Regions from separate parts of the Homo sapiens genome. Here region 1 is linked to region 2. Evidence: promoter capture Hi-C in human tissues and cell types (Jung and others, 2019). All regions are on one chromosome and are shown on one strand. The core of a region is centred on a gene start or on the middle of the fragment in contact, and the rest is flanking DNA. Distances in the headings are between cores, read along the strand shown. Region 1 overlaps TBC1D1 (TBC1 domain family member 1). Region 2 holds the start of PGM2 (phosphoglucomutase 2).

Evidence for each region. The method cuts DNA at HindIII sites, captures the fragments that hold promoters and counts their contacts. A contact is called where the count stands out against the background at its distance.
Region 1: a fragment that was not itself captured here is called in contact with the fragment with the promoter of PGM2 in region 2 in 1 of the 25 tissues and cell types used here (spleen).

What each region holds. Positions count from the first base shown.
Region 1 is chr4:38,085,043-38,087,782 of GRCh38, reverse strand. The region is part of intron 14 of TBC1D1 (TBC1 domain family member 1); the gene reads right to left. Among named protein-coding and RNA genes, the nearest start is that of PTTG2, 130 kb to the right of the region's middle. The HindIII fragment of the contact is 4,877 bases long and covers 1-2,740 here.
Region 2 is chr4:37,825,307-37,828,006 of GRCh38, reverse strand. It overlaps PGM2 (phosphoglucomutase 2), which reads right to left and starts at 1,321. Exons shown (of 14, transcript NM_018290.4): 1 at 1,194-1,321. The coding sequence starts at 1,274. RefSeq lists enhancers at 649-1,148, 1,149-1,650, 2,683-2,700 and a silencer at 1,139-1,438. The HindIII fragment of the contact is 14,611 bases long and covers 1-2,700 here.

The DNA.
Region 1 (2,740 bases), core at 239-2,738, 260 kb before region 2:
CCTCTACCTCCCAAGTTCAAGCGATTCTCCTGCCTCAGACTCCCGAGTGAGTAGTTGGAATTACAGGCATGCGCCACCATGCCCTGCTAATTTCTGTATTTTCAGTTGAGACGGGGTTTCACCATGTTGGCCAGACTGGTCTCGAACTCCTGACCTCAGGTGATCTGCCCACCTCGGCCTCCCAAAGTGCTAGAATTACAGGTGTGAGCCACCATGTCCAGCTGACTTGGATATTCTTAAACCCTACTAGTAAAACAAGGGCTCACCTCACCTAAACTCCTTCTTCTAATCTCATCCTTCCTGTTTACCACAGCCTTCCTCTTCCCAGGGTCTTGAAAATTCCTACTGTGTTCCTTTCAAATTCGGAATCACAATGAGCAGGTGTAACTCAGGCCAGGAGGATGGAACATTCCTAACAGTAGAGGCTGTTTGTCCCCAGATCCATGTACTCTCTGCCACTTGGGCTACTGACAAGGACCACTGTCTATAGAAGTTTATGAAACTCCGGTTTTATTTTAGTATTCAGAGAAACTGGATCTGCAAAAATACAAGTATTGTTTGGGGACGACAACTGTGAGATTTAAGACCTAAGCTGTCTCCCTAATGTTTTCTACTTTTGTGATCTTTTTCTTATTATCACTAGTGACAGTTTGTTGAGCTTTTACCATATGGGTTCTTGGCATAAATAAGCTTGTTTGATTCTTACAACAATCTCATAGGACAGGTGATATTATGATCTCCATTTTCCAGCTAAAACAAATAAGGTGCAGTGAGGTTTTATAACTTGGCCAAGGTCACACAGCTAGTAAGGGTCAGAGCCATAATAAGAAAAAAGGTGTATTTTCCTCCAAAGTAAAAAAAAGAAGAGTTTACCCCGTGCTTCTCTAACTTCTACATGCACAAGCCTCACTGGGGATCTTGCTAAATTAAAGATTTTGATTCAGCAAGTCTGAGGGGAGCATTTCCATCAAGCTCCCCAGTAATGCCTCCACTGCTGTTTCTCCAAGCACACTCTGAATAGCAGGGCTCCACGCTGCAGCTTTACTCTCTATTTCCTCATGCAACCCTATGCGCTTGCTAGCACGTCGGCTCATCTCCTTCACTCCCACCACTGAAAACACAGTTCAAATACTGTTGTTAGCTGCCTGAATTCAGGTCCTCAACACATGGCAGGAGCTTGTCCCAAATTTGGTCGGGGGATCCAGGCCAAGTCCAGAATACAAAGACATATTTGAGCACTAGTATTAATTTCACCTCTACATGAACTAAATAAAAGCTGATCCACTGTAAAGGTCAGCAAATAAACCCAAGAGTTTAAAGGAGGGTTTCTCAACCTCAGCACTACTGACATTTTGGGGCTGGATGATTCTTTGTCAGGAGGAACAGTTTTATACACTGTAGAATGTTTAGCAGAGGGCATAGTAGCATCTGCCCACCATCAATGCCTCTAGGCATTGCTAAATATCCCCTAGGGGTCAGGAGGAACAAAACCACCTCTAATAAGAACCTCTGATTCAGAGCTAAAATCTCACCATTTCGTCTCTCCTAAACCCTGGGAAGGGGCAAAAACGTATCTCTTTTATCCAAATTCATTTCACGTGGTAACAATTACTGATTTTTTTATAGTTTACGATTAACAACAAATTTGTATAATATTTTTTGTTCATATTAAGAGTAGCCTGGCTACAAAATAGCTCAGTAATTTATAAAGGGAGATAGTTAAAAATCTTTGTTCTAAATTTGGCCTGCTGAATCAGTCCAAAGAAAGTAAGCTGCTTTCTCAACAATGCAAAAAGATCCAGACTGGGCACAAGGCTTTGGTTTGTAATCAGTCCTCCTTCAGGCGTGTGCAGTCTTGAGAGATGTGGACTCGAGTGGAGTGGCAGGTCAAGGAGAACAAAATCAAAGTCTGAGGCAACTGTCAGCTAAGAACCTTGTTCTAATGATAAACCGGGGCACTGTTTTCACTTGCATCATTCCTAAGCCAATCCTACCAGCATTGAGTCCCTTACATGTATGCAGCGATGCAATGCGTTAGGTGGTCTAAGGAGGGCTACTCTGAGGTTTCTACTCTCTAGAACAATCCCAGGGATCCGGCTTCTCTCCCCGACTTGCATTCTTGCTGAGAGACAGCTGCACAGAGGCCAGTGTAGGAAGCTTGGCTTGGCTCAGTGCAGCGGAGGCTGAGCCGAAGGAGGGGCTGCTCTACCTCATGGGCCAACTGTGTTGGTGCCTCTTGGGAAAACATATGCCTTCTGGGTTCCAGTCCCCCAGTGTAAAATGTGAGAAATGATATTCACCGCCGACTGCCCAACTGTAGAGACCACAGGCACTGACAGGCATATTTATAAAGTCGGCAAAGCCACCAAACCAAAGGGCTGCGATAACAACTTAGTCCAGGATTAGATTTTACTATTCTGACATCTCCTATAATGACGGATGTGGAGCACTTAAATTATGTAGCCTTTCAGAAACAATAGCCTCCAATGGGTTCTAAGAATTTTAAAACCAGTCATAATTCAGGAGGCCTTGGAGACAACTGCCTCCTATTAAATCATTGCTGTGACACTCCCAACAGAGTCATAAATATGATCTATGCTGGTATGTCGATATTTTAGATGCCAAATTATTCCCCAACAACTCTGTGCTGTTGCATTCTTTCTATCTGCACACAAATGTGTGGGGAAGAGGATGACATTGCATCATTGTTATGAACAGAATCAATGCCATGATCGAGAAA
Region 2 (2,700 bases), core at 72-2,571:
TTCAAGTATTTCAGTGACCTACTATGTGTCATGCACTATGCCTATGCCAGGCACTACAAACCAAGGTAGTGAGAATAGAGAGGCCTGGCCACATAATTTATGGAGGTCCAGTGCACAATGAAAGTGGGTGACCTCTTGTTTTACCAGTAAGACTTTCAAGACAGGACAGCAGGACATTAAAACAACAGTGGGCCCTTCAAGGAGCGCGAGTCCTGTGAGACTGCAGGGGTCTCTCGCCCCTGAAGTCGGCCCTGGAGACAGACATTAAACAAACCTACAAACAAGTGTTTTTGGAGTTTTTTGTTTTTACCATTTGTAGTAAGAGCTATAAAGGAAAATAACAGACTGTTTAGAGTGAATATTAGGGATAAATAATTTAACGCTTCGGAGCCAAGGAAGGACTGACTCTCTACGTAAGCCACATTTAAGTTCAGGCACAAAATATGAGTCACAACGGGAGAAACAAGTTCAGCAGGAGAGCAGCGAGGGACATTCCGAGAAAACCTAACAGCAAGCAGAACAGGTCGAAAGGGCGAGACGCAAGTTTATAGAGAGGAGAGGGAGTGATGTCCAGAGCTGGGTTCCTGATTCTAAGAAACGGAATGAAGAGAGAGAAAACCGTGCTGTGTCCCAGGTGTGCCTCCCTGGCAGTCAAAGTTCTAAGGGGGACTCCTGAAGCCAGGCGGGCCCACCCGGGAGGACAACCCACGTTTGTAACCAAGCCCTCGGGATGGGAGGACCGGACCAGAACGCTGCTCTGCAAAGGTCTCAGCGGCCAAAGGAATACGCGGGACGGAGCGATTCTGGGTCCATGGGGATGCACAGCCGACTACCGACGACGAGCCAGCGGTCTGAGTGACAGTAAGGCGTGCGCCCCTCAACTAGACAGCGTCCAGGGTCTGGCCGCGCTTACACCACCCTGGCTCGCTCCTCTACTCCGAACTTGCAGTCCGGCCGGCCGGATGGCTGGTTTCGTCCGGGGACAAGCCTTCCCGGCCTAACTCTGAACGTGCCGCATGCCGGCCAGGTCGAAGGAAGCCTAGCAGCGGCCGTACGCTCCTGGGTCTTCCCGGGGGAGAAGCGGGATGCACTGGGCGGGAAGGCAGCTCAGGCAGAGCAAGCAGCGCCGCGCCTGGAGAGGGCAGAGCACCCGGCCCCGCTCCAGGCGCTCCCCGCCTGCTGGTGCCCCTCACCTTGTCCCAGCGCAGCCACTGGGCGGTCTCCTGGTCCAGCCGGGCGTCCTCGCCTAGACCGCTGCCTTCTGGAGCCGCCATCGCTGAGCTTGTGCTACCGCTGCAGAGGGAAGCAGGCGGTGAGATCTGCCTTCCGGCCCGGCCCCAAGACGTGGAGGCGGAGGCGGGGGCGGGGAGAGCCGCGGCGGAGCCAGTCGGTCCGGGGGAAAGTGACGCGCGCCGCGGCGGGCACGCCTCCTTGCCGTTTGCGGGTGCGCTGCAGGGGGTGGGAGTGAGCGAGGAGGAATTGCGGGGCTAGGGTGGGTTGCTGGAACCTGGCACGTGTGAGAAGGGTTTGCCATCGTCTCTGATGCATCCAGGCTACAGCCAGCCGTGAGTTCCTGCTGCGCGCCAGGCACATGTCAGATGCTGGGATACCAGGAAGTGCACCCAGATAGGGGCCTGAAGACTATGTAGAAACTCAGAGGGTCAAGAACAGCCAGAAAAAAATCTTGAAAAAGAAAAGCAAAGTAGGAAGACCAGTGGAACATAAGATAGAGACCAGAAACAAAAATACACGTGTATGGACAATTTATTTCAGAGGCGGGGCTGCAGAGCACAGGAAGGAACTATTTTTGGTTAATGGTGCTCGGTCAAAGGGATATCCACGTAGGGAAAAGAAAAAAGGGAACTTGGCCCCCTACCTCCCATCACACACAGCTCTGAACTCCAGATCAATTGTATCTCTAAGTGCGAAAGGTAGTGTAGCAGGAGGAGCCGCAGACAAAACTCCTCAGACACCGGATTAAAGAAGGAAGAGGTTTTTATTCGGCCGGGAGCGTCGGCAGACTCGCGTCTTAAGAGCCGAGCTCCCTGAAAAAGAAATTCCTAGCCATTTTAAGGGCTTACAACGCTAAGGGGTCTGTCTACGTGAAAGGGTCATGATAGATCAAGTAAGCGTGAGGAACGTGACTGGGGGCTACATACATCAGCTAACAGAACAAGAAGTTTTACAGTGCTTTCTCATACGATGTCTGGAATTTACGGATAACGCCAGTAGTTTTGGTCAGGGGTTAATATTATTATTATTATTTTAACCACCAGGGCCAGGTGGTGGCGCCAAGGTCGTCTAGCTATTTATCTTACTTCTGTTTTTTTCCAACTTTTTGCTTTCTCTCTTTTCTCCTGTCTTATAAACTAGGGAAAAGGGGAGGTGGGGGAGAAGCTGGGAAGGACAGCAGAAATGGTGGTCTCTTTCCATAGTAGCGTGAAACTTAGGGAAACTAACATAGGAGCACATCTTCCTGACGCTGGTATCACCAAGCCATAAAGAAGATGCATACCCATAAGCATAAAAAAGCACGGGCAAGAATATTTCTAGCAGCATTATTTGTAAAAGCCTCAAACTGGAAACAACCCAGATGACCATCGACAATACAATGGATAAATACTTGGTAGTATATCCATACCAATTCATATAAATAAATCATGGCACATTGATAGAGCAATGCAGGTGAACTACTGTTAT